5 separate regions of the Homo sapiens genome follow, and all the other regions are linked to region 5. Evidence: promoter capture Hi-C in 16 types of primary human blood cells and fetal thymus (Javierre and others, 2016). All regions are on one chromosome and are shown on one strand. Each heading gives the region's core, a stretch centred on a gene start or on the middle of the fragment in contact. The rest is flanking DNA. Distances are from core to core; before and after follow the strand shown. Region 1 has its middle 24 kb from the start of LINC00899. Region 2 has its middle 11 kb from the start of WNT7B. Region 3 has its middle 27 kb from the start of WNT7B. Region 4 overlaps LOC124905135 (collagen alpha-1(III) chain-like). Region 5 holds the start of TRMU (tRNA mitochondrial 2-thiouridylase).

The links. Contacts are between HindIII fragments. The CHiCAGO score rates a contact against its expected background, and 5 or more counts as called.
Region 1: a contact is called between a fragment that was not itself captured here and the fragment with the promoter of TRMU in region 5, in 4 of 17 cell types (neutrophils, activated CD4 T cells, erythroblasts and 1 more). The highest score is 6.9, in neutrophils.
Region 2: a fragment that was not itself captured here is called in contact with the fragment with the promoter of TRMU in region 5 in 8 of 17 cell types (neutrophils, naive CD4 T cells, monocytes and 5 more); the score reaches 11.0 in neutrophils.
Region 3: a fragment that was not itself captured here is called in contact with the fragment with the promoter of TRMU in region 5 in 16 of 17 cell types (neutrophils, megakaryocytes, erythroblasts and 13 more); the score reaches 12.7 in neutrophils.
Region 4: a fragment that was not itself captured here is called in contact with the fragment with the promoter of TRMU in region 5 in 4 of 17 cell types (megakaryocytes, neutrophils, naive B cells and 1 more); the score reaches 5.8 in megakaryocytes.

Annotation. Positions count from the first base shown.
Region 1 is chr22:46,019,438-46,022,207 of GRCh38, reverse strand. No RefSeq gene overlaps it. Among named protein-coding and RNA genes, the nearest start is that of LINC00899, 24 kb to the left of the region's middle. The HindIII fragment of the contact is 2,954 bases long and covers 40-2,770 here.
Region 2 is chr22:45,986,667-45,989,366 of GRCh38, reverse strand. No RefSeq gene overlaps it. Among named protein-coding and RNA genes, the nearest start is that of WNT7B, 11 kb to the right of the region's middle. RefSeq lists enhancers at 1,506-2,006, 2,007-2,507. The HindIII fragment of the contact is 8,373 bases long and covers 1-2,700 here.
Region 3 is chr22:46,002,990-46,005,689 of GRCh38, reverse strand. No RefSeq gene overlaps it. Among named protein-coding and RNA genes, the nearest start is that of WNT7B, 27 kb to the right of the region's middle. The HindIII fragment of the contact is 8,534 bases long and covers 1-2,700 here.
Region 4 is chr22:46,060,347-46,063,046 of GRCh38, reverse strand. The region is part of intron 1 of LOC124905135 (collagen alpha-1(III) chain-like); the gene reads right to left. Among named protein-coding and RNA genes, the nearest start is that of PRR34, 7.5 kb to the right of the region's middle. The HindIII fragment of the contact is 1,600 bases long and covers 453-2,052 here.
Region 5 is chr22:46,334,462-46,337,161 of GRCh38, reverse strand. TRMU (tRNA mitochondrial 2-thiouridylase) reads right to left here and starts at 1,448. Exons shown (of 11, transcript NM_018006.5): 1 at 1,316-1,448. The coding sequence starts at 1,397. RefSeq lists a silencer at 1,001-1,050 and enhancers at 859-1,358, 1,191-1,410. The HindIII fragment of the contact is 6,278 bases long and covers 62-2,700 here.

The sequences.
Region 1 (2,770 bases), core at 267-2,766, 320 kb after region 5:
TGGCGCGTACCATAGTCTGGTTTCCTTGGAAGCAAAGCTTGAGACAAAGACTTGTCTGCAGACATTTCAGCTGGAAATGAGATTCCTGGGAAAACCAATACAAGGACGTTTCACTGAGTCAGTCACAGCTGCAGGAGGCTCATACCTGCTCCTGACGGGGGTTTCTGGGGGATCTCATGAAATATATCTCAGAACTGACCACCTGTGAGAAGAAAGAGAGCATTTCTCCATCAGCTCAACTTGCCACCAGTCAAGGTGGTTCTGTAGACATTAACTTCCAGCATTCCCATGTTGCACGAGTGTGACTGCAGAGGGCTCCACCAGGACCACTAAGTCGCATATTCAGAGAAGCACCTGGACAGGAAGCAAGAGATCTCCAGCATGGGCCCAAGGCAAGGCACTGTCTGGCTGCTGGCACCCACATGAAGCTGGATGAAGCCACTGTAAGACCGGCTGTGGTGGGAATGGCTGGAGTTGGGGTTGAGAGGACCTTGAAGTGGAGCACAAGAGGGGCCTGGTGTAGTCCACCCCTTGCCTCCCTCACATGTGCATGTGAGTCTTTGATGATGTCTAGTCTGCCACAGAGTTCCCTTCAAGGTGGCAGCCAGCAGCAAGATCTGTAAGTTCTTAAAACACGATTATTAGTGGAACAAGCTATAGTCTCCACTGCTGCAGCTGGTCTGAGGTCGTGATCGATAACCTCATCTCAATCCTCCACCACAATTCCAGATGAGCACTTCCATGGGCCTAGGCTGTGTGGCAGTGGCAGGGCCCTCGCCTTCCTCTTTGGAGGGTCTGAGCCCTCATCTGCATTTGCTTTTGCTGGCTGTGGTTGCTGCCATTGCCAGGTCCCCGCTATGACCACCTTGGAAGTGCCAAGAGGCGCTGCAGTGAATTATCTGGTTCTGAGACTGATTCCTCCTTGCCCCGAAGCCGAGCTTCTCTTGAGGTCAGGGTCAATGACTCTGCCAGGATGGTGACTCCTTTCTTTCACTGTTGGTCCACTGGCATGAAGAAGCCAACATGATCAAGAGGTCATTGAGGCCTCAAGATCAGTTGACTCTAGTTTATTGCTTGGTGGAAGAATCCCCCTGTGGGAACCGGAACCTTGAACTTAACAAAGTCAAAGGATGTGAGACTGGTGAGAGAAGTCAGTCTCACCTCCTGGACTTAAGCCTTTCCCTTGGTTCCTGGACCTTTGTATTCTTAGTATGGGGGACACAGTACCGCATGACAGGGTTGATCTCCCACCCTTTGGCATTGAAGAGTACTTGCCACTCACTCTTCACCAGATTTTGAAGGAATGAGCAATAGGTATCTGAACAGAATGTAAGTTCCACAAAAACAGAATTCTTGTCTGCATTGTTCGCTGCTGTACCCGCAGCACCTAAACAGTGTTGGGATCAATATAAGGACTCAATAAATATTAGCTAAATAAATAATTTCTAGTGGGATTTAATATCAGATAGTCAAATTATAAAGCAAACATTTTCAAAAACTTATGGGGCTGTCACTGGAATAAGTAGATCAACAGACAGAATAGAAAATGTAGAAAGAGGTAAAGGTATGGGATATGTTTTAGAGATGGGATCTTGCTATATTGCCAAGGCTGGTCTTGAATTTCTGGGCTCAAGTGATCCTCCCACCTTGGCTTCCTAAGTGGTTGGGACTACAGGCATGTGCCACTGTGCCCAGCTTGTTTGGGTACACATTTTTTTTTTTTTAAATAAGGGATGGATGGAGCAACAGGCAACCATTGAGAAAGATGAAATGAAATTAGATCCATGTCTCTCTTCTTGTACCAAAATAAATTTGAGATGGGTTAAGAATCTTAAGGTAACAAAAAAATAAATAAATAAAAAAAGAACCTTAAGGCAAAAAAAAAAATGAAACCATAAATACACGAGGATAAAGTATACATAAATATTTACCTAATTTTGAGGTTGAGAAATATCTTCCTAAGCAGTGAGACTCACATCAGGGCCACAAAGAAAAGAATGGAGAATATATATACGGTTTTGTTTCCATGTGTGGGAGGAAACAGTATAAGCAGAGTGAAAAGGCAAACAACAAACCGGGAAAAACTATGTGCTGGACAAAATCCTTCTAACATAAGTGTATTAGTCCGTTTTCACACTGCTATAAAGACATACCCAAAACTATGTAATTTATTTTATTTATCTATTTATTTATTTGAGATGGAGTCTCACTTTTTGCCCAGGCAGGAGTGCAGTGATGCGATCTCGACTCACTGCAAACTCTGCCTCCCAGGTTCAAGCGATTCTCCTGCCTCAGTCTCCTGAATAGCTGGGATTACAGGCACGTGCCACCATGCCCAGCTAATTTTTGCACTTTTTAGTAGAGATGGGGTTTCACCATGTTGGCCAGGCTGGTCTCAAACTCCTGAACTCAAGTGATCCACCCACCTCGGCCTCCCAAAGTGCTGGGATTATAGGCGTGAGCCACTGTGCCTGCCCAAGACTAGGTAATTTATAAAGGAAAGAGGTTTAATTGACTCAAGTTCCACATGGCTGGGGAGGCCTCAGGAAACTTACAGTCATGACGGAAGGCAAAGGGGAAGCAGGCACCTCCTTCACAAGGCAGCAGGAGAGAGAAGTGCAGAGCGAAGGGAAAAGAGCCTTTTATAAAACCATCAGATCTCGCGAGAACTCACTCAGTATCATGAGAACAGCACGGGGGAACCACCCCCATGATCCAATCACCTCCCACGAGATTCCTCCCCCACCACATGGGTATTACAGTTTGGATT
Region 2 (2,700 bases), core at 72-2,571, 350 kb after region 5:
ATGTCTGGGGATACGTTTTGTTGTCATACCTCAGGGGATGCTGTGTGCTAAAAGCGTCTAGTGGGCAGAGGCCAGAGACGCTGCTGAACATCCTACCGGGCACAGACGGTCCCCACCACAGGGAACGATCCTGCCCTGAATGCCCATGGTGCAGCCACAAGAAGCCCCAGCGGAGACAGGCAGCTGAGTGCTCGGTGTCGGGCCCTTGCCTAGAAGGATGAGGTCCAAATGGTGGCCTGGCTTTCGGTGGCCTTTGTGGCCTAACCCAGCCTCAGCCCTGGGTGCTGGGCACTCTGGCATCATGTGCTAGGTTAGTCCCACTGGGTCGTGGCACTTTTAGAGGGTGGGCTTTATGCAGGGAACTCTGGAAGGCTCAGATTCAGCCTTGGGCATCCATCTTCTCCCCATGGGGGACTCAAGCAGGAAATCAAAGGACTCTTCATTCTGTGGTGGGAGGCACTGGAAAGGGCCTTCCCTCCTCCTCCCTCAAAGCTCAAACCTGGATCTTCCACCAGCAGTCATCAGTGCAGGGTGGAGGTCAAAGTGACCCTCATGGAAGGAGGAGGTAAAGGACTGCCCAGGGCACATTGCTTTTGCCCACCAGCAAACCCAGCTTAGCCAGGGTCCTGGAGCTGCCCCATCAGGGCGGTGCTGGTCGGTTGCCACAGGCGAGGAGTGATTGTATGTTGGGGTCAGGGAGGGCCAGGAGCATCCCTCTCCAGACTCAGGTCCTTGGCTCTCCTACCGAGGAAGGGGTTCATGGACAAGCGCAGACCAGGCCTCACCTGGACTCCAGATCCTCATCTGCAGAGATGGGGGCTCGCCCCTGCCTCAGCCTCACTCAGCACACCTGGCCCTCATCACCTCCTCTCTCGGCTGACTGCCAGGCTCAGGCAGCCTGGAGTTTTGGTCAAGGTGCAGCTGGATGTGCTGGGCAGCCTGACCTCAGCTCTCCTGGTCCTGGAGAGGACTTTTGTTAGAGACACAGAGCATTTGTTTTAACATAGAAGATGTGATGTGAGTTTGTCTATGAGGCAGTCCCGAGCCTCCCTGTCAAATGCCTCACCTCCTGGGTTCATGACCCTCACAGAGGTCAGAAGTCACAGGGAGCCTACACATTTCATTCCCAGTGAACCCATGCTAGCTCCTGGTGTTACAGGATCTTTTGGGTGTCGTCTTTTTAGCTGGAAACCTCTGTGACCAGTGGCGTCTTTGCCTGAGTTTTTGTCCTGCATCCAGGAAGAATGAGGTATGCAGACAAGTAGAGGGTAAGCAAGACAAAGAGGAGCTTTATTGAGTATTAGAACAGCTCAGAGGAGACCTGCAGTGGGTAGCTCCTCTTTCTAGGCAGGTTGTCCCATCGAGTGTTCAGCTCTCCGCAGAGAGGAAGCCCCAGAGAGGGTAGTGCCTCTCTGCAGGCAGGTTATTCTGACATCTCCTCAGGTCTCTGAAGCTCTCAGCAGAGAGGGTAGCTCCTCTCAGCAGCTGATCAACTTGTAATCTGCTCAGCTCTGGCTGAGCCCAGGGTTTTTATGGGCCTCAGAGGGGAGAAAGTGCATGCAGATTGGTCCATGGGTAGCCATGGGCAGGCCCAGAAAAGGCACCACAAATTCCCATTCAGGTTGGTGGGACTGGAAGCCCAGCCTCCAGCCTTCAGGCCCTCCCTGGCCCTAAAGGTGGAGCCTCACGGGGGACCCGTCCCCTTCCTCCCAGGAATGTGCCTGCCTCCTGCTGCCATTCATGGCACCAGGGCTTGGCCCTGACTTTGCTTTGAGATCAAAGCAGGCACTGACGGCAGGGAAAAGCCAGGCAGTGGGAACAGGCACTTCCAAGCCTGCAAGGGCAGTGGGGGCCTTCCCAGGTCCCTGAGTGCAGAAATTCCTGAGTCTGCAGCTACAGTTTTGGTGGCTGCAGCTGTGCCTGGGAGGGTAGGGCTCTTGCCTGCTCCTGTCCCAAGAGCACAGGGATGCTCAGATCTGCAGCCACAATTTGGGCGGCTGCAGCCCCACCTAGGAGGGTGGGGCTCCGGCCTGCTCCATGGAGTATGCGGCCCTGGCCATGCCTCCCTGCTGCAGTCTGTGTGATGGCAGTGGGAGGCCATCTTGGAGCAGCCACTGCCGTCACTGGTGCTCACCCCCTCCTTCTGCTCCCTGGGCTCTTGGATATCCCTTAGCTTCTGCCCTGAATTGGGTCAAGCTCCTGGATTTGCCTTTGGGGGCTCCTCATTCTCCCTCCAGAAATGCCAGAGCTCTGTCTGCCCTTCTCTGGATGAGGGGTCCTGGTGGGCACACACAGGCTCCTGCTGGAAATCATCTGACGCCCGCAGCCTCCTCCCCAGGTGGCCCCTGCTCCCCATCCCCAGTGGGGACTCTGTCCCTCCTGGGAGGGACTGCTTCTCCCCTAGGAGCCCTCCACCTCCCTTGGCAAGGGCTGGGAACCCCCTAGGGGCTCAGGGTGTACACTGAGAGGACTTGGGGTGTGGACCTTCCCACGGAACTTTCTGCAGTTTACACGTTTGCCAGAACTATCATTTGCCAATTGTGCTTGATCTCTGGAGCCACCTGGGTGTTGATTAAACATTCAGATTCCTAGCCCCTTCCCTGAGATATTTCGGAGAAGTGGGCCTGTGGTAATGCTAAAAATTGGCTGGTCAGGCAAGCTGGGGACACTCCATCCAGGGCCCACCTCTGGTGCCCCCCT
Region 3 (2,700 bases), core at 135-2,634, 330 kb after region 5:
CCTAGGTGCAGGGGACAGGGCTGAGGGAGCGGGGGAGGCGCCAAGATGTCAAGGCCGGCAGCCGTTCTCCTGGGGCAGAGGGCCAGTGCCCATGCCCGCACCTTGGGTCCCCAGGGCAGCCAGGTGGAGCCATACCACCTCCTCGGGCTTCACCTGCAAGCCCAGGCCCTGTGCTCACTGAGCCCCCACGCCCGCCAGGCCACTTCCAGAGGCTGTGCACACCCTCTGCCCAGATCCAGGAGAGGGGCTTTCACACAAGGAGGGAGAGGCTCAGAACCCTGGCAACCTACCCAAGGCATGGCACATGGGGCTACACGGGTGGATTGGAAGCTGGGTTGGCCACCTGAACCCCTGGGGTCCTGGCATTTCCAATGTCACCATCAGAAGGGTGGATGGAGGCCGGGCGTGGTGGCTCATGCCTGTAATCCCAGCATTTTGGGAGGCCGAGGCAGGCGGATCACCTGAGGTCAGGAGTTCGAGGCCAGCCTGGCCAACATGGTGAAACCCCGTCTCTCCTAAAAACACAAAAATTAGCCAAGCATGGTGGCAGGTGCCTGTAGTCTCAGCTACTTGGGAGAATGAGGCAGAAGAATCGCTTGAACTCGGGAGGCGGAGGTTGCAGTGAGCTGAGATCACACCACTGCACTCCAACCTGTGCGACAGGGCAAGACTCTGTCTCAAAAAAAAAAAAAAAAAGAAAAAAGTAAAAGAAAAAAGAATGGAGGACGGAAGGGCCACACCATGCAGGTGCTGGGGTCCTGGCGTTTCATTTTCAATGTCACCATCAGAATGGAGGATGGGAGGCCGCCCCGCGAATGGAGGGCGGGAGAGCCATGCCATGCAGGTGCTGCCTGCTTGGGTTCCTGTGCTGGGACTGCCTCTCTCATCTATCACCTTGCACCTCCATCGCTGTGACACCCTTCACCCGCCGGGCCCCCACAAAACATGCTTGGGCTCTGCAGCCAGACTCCATCCTCCCCCACCAACCGTCCGACTCCTAGAGCCCTCTCCTGGACCCCCAGCACAGCGCGTGCGTGACGGAACCCTGCAGAGCCACTTCCTGTTAGAATCAGAAGGGCTGTCAGCCACTAAACCCAAGTGCCAACTTTTGGTGACGGAGAAATAGATCCAGATAGAGGGAGGACTTGATCAGGCCCAGGGTGGCCAGAGACCCTTTGGACTGCGACCAGAATCCCAGGGGCCTGTCACCGGCCCAGCGTCTGAGGTCCTGAATCCCTGGAAATCAATAAAGGCAGGCAGGTGGGAGGCTGGAGGCCTCGCAGCCCACCCAACCCACATCCACCACACTCTCACACCAAGCCCTCAGCGTGCTCGGAGCATGGCGGTGGGCTTTACCCCTCCAGCCCCTCTACCTGGGATGCCACACAACTCTTCAGGGCCAGGGGAGTCCCCTCCTAGGGCCACCGTCCCCAAGGCACCCAGGGATGAGTCACTCTCTCTCACCCCAGGCCACCCAGGAGAGTTGACATCAGTCACATGTCTGCCCCTCAGACTGGGAGAACCCTGGAGCAGGGACCCCATCCCCTGCCTCTGTGAATCCCTAGCATTGGCCCATGGTGTGAACACCAGCAGCCACAGCACTGAGACCTAGCCAGGGCTTCCCAGTTTCCTGGGCACCAGCTGTTCTTCGCAGCCTCTTCCATGCTTGCTGGGAAGCAAGGTCTATCATGACCCTAGGCGCAGAAGGACAAGAAACAGAGAGGTTGAGTAAGATGCCCGACGACACACAGCTGGAGTCAGCAGAGGCTGGAAGGGTGCTGGGCGGCCTGGCTCCCAGCACGAGGCATCCTACCTGAGGACAGTAGACGGGCAGCTAAAGGACCCTCAGCTGACCACACAGGCCGGGCCTGGGCATGTCTGCGGCATGACCCCCTTGGGCCTTGTCACCTCCTCTCATCCCCTAGATCGCAGGACAGCAAGGTGGTCACACCCAGATTGCCTGAGTGTGCATTCTTTCCTTCCACGTCGGAGCACTTGGTCGGAATCCTGCCCACACAGGATGCACCTCACGAGGTGTTCACTCACCAGTCTCCCAGAGCAGAGGGGTCTGGGGAGAGGGGACACAAGATGGCATTGGGAGTGACAGCAAGACTGACTGTCTTGCGGGGCCCTCAGGCGCTGGCCTCCAAGGCCAGGTCCCCCAGGAAAAGCCTAGACAGAGGGGAGCAGGAAACCCGGTCCCAGCCCAGGGCGCCCACTCCCTGCCGGCCAGGCCAAGCCTCCCGCGTCCGGCCTCCTGGGTGCTGCTCACTCATCCATCAGACCAGTGTGATGGGGTCATTCGCTCCCATTCCCAGGCGGGGGAGGCTCCAGGAGATGTGGGTGGATGTGGGTTTACCCTGTGGATGGCCTGAGGCCTGAGGACTAGGAAGGTCCATCTATCTGTCCCTTGGCAGATGGCCACAGTGCCCAGGGCGACAACAGGGTGAGCTCTGCTCACATGGGTCCTGATGCAGATAGGGGGTGTCTGGGCCCCTGTCACCCCTGTGGAGTCTTCCTCGCCTTCCTCTGGGCGGGTCTTCTCAGGTCCAGCTCAAGGGCATCTGGGAGGGGAGGTGGCCTGAAAGCTCGGAGGCCCTGCAAAGCTGGCTGCAGTTAGGAAAGCCACTAAGTCATTATTTTGGGGTTAAATCAGAACTAATCTACCCAAGCCAATGGCTGGGTCCCCTGAAGGGAGGA
Region 4 (2,700 bases), core at 3-2,502, 270 kb after region 5:
ACCGCACACCCAGAAGGTGACGGCCACACCTGCCTACCCCCACTCATGGCCCACGGCAGGACCCCTACCCAGCTCCATCCTCACAACAGCAGGGCATATCCGACAACTCCTGAACACCAAGTCTTCCCAAAGCCAAATTCCACGTTAGAATATTCCACCGTGCAATCAACAAGCTCAAAAACAAACTCAACATAAAAAAAAAAAAGTCTTCCTGGCAAAGCCTAGCAGTATTTACAGCTGGTGAACAAAACTGAAATAAGTGAGAATCAGGTAGAGGGCCTTGCCTGGCGGTGCCAGGAACTGGAAGCCTTTCTGCTCATCTTTGGAGGCAAAGGCTTTCAAGAAGAGTCCTTTCTGTGCTTTCCTTTTTGCACCTAATTACAAAAGAAAGTACCTTTTTAAAAATCAAACAGAACCCTTACGAAAATTACAAGTGCTAAGTCTCAAAAGCTTCTTGGGATAAACATTATAACCTTGTCCAACATTTGAGGAAAAAACGAAGAACAGAAAGACGTGAAATGGTCAAGGCCTGAATTTCGTGTCAACGGATGCATTCATGGCCTCAGCATCCTCCTCTGGCCTAGAACCGTTCCCAGGTGCTGGAAAGGTTGTGATGTGGAGGAAAAAGAGGTTGTCGGGGAGGGAGCCCACGTGCAGAGGGTCTGAAGGGTTCCGGCTTCCCTCACCAGGGGAGTGGGGTTCGCATAGATGGAGCGTCTTTTCTTTCCCGTGTGACAGGCTTCCAAGCAGAAATAAAGAGCAGAAAAAGAAAAACAAGAACTAATACACGTCTCCTCTGCATCACGGCTGTCTGAAATCCTTACGGGGCCTGCACAGGGACCCCGGGAGCAGTGTCTCTGCGGCCTCCCCCAACCCCGCTCCAGGGGACAGGCACCCACGTGGCCGCGGGAGTGCGTGGGGACCTTGCGCGGACCAGGAGCACCCGGCCCCGGGGCGGGAGGTGCGGGCCAGTTTCAGCCGGCCAGCTGCGGACCTGGGGGGACACAGGGCCCAGGCCCGCAGCGGCTCTGAAGGCAGGGAGGCCTCGGTGCGCCTCCTCCAGGCAGCCCCAGGGCGGGCACGCGAGGCAGGGCCGAGTCCGGCACCAGGCCTGAGGCTCGGGGTCCGCGGCGGGCGGGGAGGCCGGTCTGCAGCGGGGCGGGGCGGGTCCCCAGGGTTCGAACCGAGGCCTGGAGTCGGAGCCTGGGCCCGGAGCCGCTGCAGAGGGTCCGGGCCGGGGCCGGGGTCCGCCTGGGCAGGGACGAGGGTTCGAGCCGGGGTCCCAGGCCGGGGTCGGGTCGGAGTTGGCGGGCGGGTCCGGGGCCTGCGTCCGAGGGCGCGTCCCAGGCAGAGTCCAGGGTGCGGTCCGGGCAGAGGCGGCGGCACGCGCCCCAATTAGCCGCAGGCCGGGCGGCGGGGCTGCCCCATTGAGGGCGAACAAAGGGCGCGACCCCGGGGTCAGGAGTCGCGGGCTGCGGCCGCCGCTTTGTTCGGCGCCTGTTTACTTTGCCCAAGCGGAGCTCATAAGATATTGACTAAAGCGGATTAGGGGGTCGCGCCCCGGAGGCCCAGGCGGGCTGCGGGAGGCTCCAGGGCCCGCGGGACCTCCCAGCCGGGCGCGCCTGGCCGAGTCGGCCCCTTCCCCGCCGCCCGAGCGTCCCCAGCCTCGCCTCCGCCCCGCTCTGCCGGGGAAACTGAGGCTCCGGCCGGGCGGGCCCGGGAGAGGGGGCTCTGCGGCCGGCGGGCAGCCCGGGACCGCCCGGAGCCAGCCGGGAAGTGATGGGGTTGCCCGGGGCACTGCATTTTAAAGAATTCTGCCCGTCCCGATACGGCAGGTCCTGGGAATCCATTTTACAGTGAAGCAAGTCGCACTTGCCTGAAGGCTAGGAAATATTAGTTGGAAACACGGACAGATTTTTCCGTATAACAAAATCCTGGCACATTATGGTTAAGAAAGAAACTTCTAGTCTCTTAACGCAAGCGATGCGCTCCTGGCGTGAATAGGCAGGTGACCTAAGAGTGCAGAGAAATATTTTAAGGGCAATACAAGCTTACGAAAATAAATGTTTTCTTTCTTTTTAAAAAAAAGAATAAGACAACTGATGAGTCTAAATAAACCACTAGGATTCCCACTCAAAGACCACAATTAATCTGATACTATGAATCCAGGATCTACGGACTTCTCCAGTAATTAACTTGCAGAATCTTTTAAATTGTCCCTAGAAAACCAAACAGGGGAAGCAGAAAGCCCCAACTGAAAATCAGGCACCATGTCTCACCACCGGAGGGTTGTCACCCAACCAAGGATCCAAGAAGAAGACGGGCCTTTTTCCACCCTTCTTAAGGCTATTGTTTAGGGAACAAAAACACTTCCCGAGTCCACACAAAATCTTAATTGAGATTTTTCTGCCCTGGCGTACAAGTATATGTGTTTGGTTAGAAAACTCACATAGTATTGGATTAATAAGCTACCAACATATAAATCTTTTATTAAAGAAAGAACAATATTGACTTACTATTCCTATTTGTTGGTCTAACGAATACTTCTGCTACGTGTATCATCCATCCCCAATGACTGAAAGAAAGCATGCCATTTGTCTCTATTTGTCTATCTTCCTATAATGAGTCTTTAAAAATAGTTTTTCCCTGATTATAAATATACCACGTGTTTAATGAAGGCACAGGAAAGTGTAAATTATA
Region 5 (2,700 bases), core at 199-2,698:
AATGACTGCTGAAGAAGGCTTCATATAGTACCCAAAACAACAGAAATTTGATGACAAAGCTTTGTCAAAACTACACCACCACACGCGAAAGACCACCCCTATCCCAGATCAACCAGACTAATGTCTACCTAACAGTCTAAAGCCCCTGGTATAGCATCTTCCATAATCAGGGCTAAACGTGCTCCAGGCTCCTCTCCTTCCATCTCCATCTGGCCAGAACCAGCCCACACTTGCAGGCCTCTGTGATTCTGCTTGCACTGCTGACTGTGCCGGGAGGGCCGCCTCCACCTCCAAGTCTCTGCTTAGTGACATCCTACTCTTCTTTCGACTCAGCTGAGCACCTCCATCTCTAGGATGCTTTCCTCCACTCTCCCTTCCTCACAACTATTTCTGCTTATGGTCCGCCTACCCTTCTCTTTGGCACTTACTGTACCTACCATAATAGCTATGGTTATTAACAATATAAACTAATAGCCACTACTGTTTTCTGCGTACCTCGTATGTGCTGAGCACGTACTCATCAGTATGTACTATGTCATCTAATCCCTCCAGTCACCCCGTGAGGCAGGTGTTAGCCGAATTTTACAGGGGACGGCTTAATTCACTTGCCCAAGGTCAGGAGCCAAAGATGGCGCAAAGCAGAGCTCCACAAACGTGACTCTGTGAATGAGGCCTCCCGCGGGGAGCCACACAGGTGAAGTTAAACAAGTGCTCATTTCAGCGCCGGGCCCGAGGAATGCTAAGCACCCGTGGGGCTCCGTTTAGATGCCGGAAGAAATGCAAATGCTCCTGGAGAAAACTTTGTCCTCCAGCGAGCGGAGAACACAGGAGACGCTGAACAAGCAGACCCGCCGCGCGGCAGTTGTCCAGTCTGCTGAGTGGGGAGGACAAGGACCTCCCACCGGGCGGCCACAGCGTGTGCAGAGGTCAGGCCCCCGGCCCGGCGATCCCAGCTCCCCTCACCAGTGTCCACGGTCTCACAGGTGAATGTGGACGCCGCAGATCCGTGAGAAACCCTTCCCTCCCCACCCCACCCCGGCCCGCCGGCTTCTCACTGTGGGTGGGCGCGCGTGGGTGGAGAGGGGCGCGGAACTGCTCCCAGGTAGTCGGAGCTGCAGTCGCGCACACCTCCGACTACACAGGTGGAGGGCGAGGAGCCTCCGAACCAAAGTCAGAGGACGGGGTATCCTCCTGCCGACCCGCGCGCAACCAGCGGCCCAGGGAGGGAGGAGACGTGCACAACGCCACGACGGACGGGGACAGGTTTCCGGGGACACATTCGCTCGGCGGGGGGCGGGAGCCTCGGACGCCTCACCTCTCCGCCTCAGCAGCAGCGCGGCCACGGCGCTGTCCACGCCGCCGGACAGGGCGCACACGACGTGCCGCAAGGCCTGCATCCGCCAGTCGCCCAACTTCGCCAGCTGCAGCTACCGCCGCTTCCGCGCCTTGCCGGAAGTCCCGCCCCGGCCGTAGGGTCCGCGCTAGTGGCCCGGCCGGAAGCTGCGGCAGCTTACCCGCGTTCCGTCCGGCCTTCCCCTGTCCCGCGGCGGGTTCCCCTGTCTCCGGCCTGCGCTCACCCCTGAGGCTCCACCGACCCGCGGGGCGCCGAGACTCTGTCGGGCCGCGAGGGGCTGGCTTTTTTTTTGAGCCGCCGCCTTGCCCTCCCCACCCGCGCCCCGGCCTCACTGCTCTTCTTCTGCGCTGTAAACCAAAAATAAAATTCTAAGCCCCCCAGCCAGCCATTGGAGGCCTCCTCTCGGCCAAGGGCGTCCTAGAGGGAACCTGAACCGCGAGTTCGGGCTCTGATGGGAAAGGCCGGGTGGGACCCGCCTCACTAGACCCTCCTCCTCCCTTTGGAATTCGGACCAGCATTAACGTCAAAACAGACTTAAGACTGTCTAGGCGGACTCTCCGTAGCAATAGGATACCGACATGACAGATGGCAGGCCCTGAAAGATATCGAAGTATTTTACAGTATTTTAATTTAATTTAATTTTTAATTAATTAAATTTTTTTGAGATGGAGTTTTGCTCTGTCGCAGGCTGGAGTGTAGTGGGCGCGACCTCGGCTCACTGCAACCTTCACCTCCAAGATTCAAGCGATTCTCCTGCCTCAGCCTCCCTAGTAGCTGCGATTACAGGCGCCCGCCACCAAGCCCAGCTAATTTTTGTATTTTTAGTAGAGACGGGGTTTCACCGTATTTGCCAGGCTGGTCTCTCACTCCTGACCTCAAGGGATCCGCCCACCTCAGCCTCCCAAAGTGGCGGGATTACAGGTGTGAGTCACTGCCCCCGGCCCAGAAAATCTTTGAATCCACCTATGACCTGGAAGCCCCACCCCACCTTCGAGTTGTCCCACCTTTCCGGAACCAATGTTACATCTTACATGTATTGATTTATGGCTTATGTCTCCCTAAAACGTACGAAACCAAAAGCTGTAGCACCACCAGTTTGAGCACGTGTTCTCAGGATCTCCTGGGACTATGACATGAATAAATATCTTCAAATCTTTTACAGTTTGACTCCAAGCATACTCAGCACTCAATCCTTAATGTCTGTGAGGTGTGTTGGACAGGGGTTTTGTGTTCTGTCCACTCCTACTCCATGCCCAGAAAAGCCCCTGGCCCAGGGCAGGTGCTTCATAACCTCGCTGAATAAAGGAAGGAGGAGAGAATGGAGGTCATCCCCCAGGGGTGATATT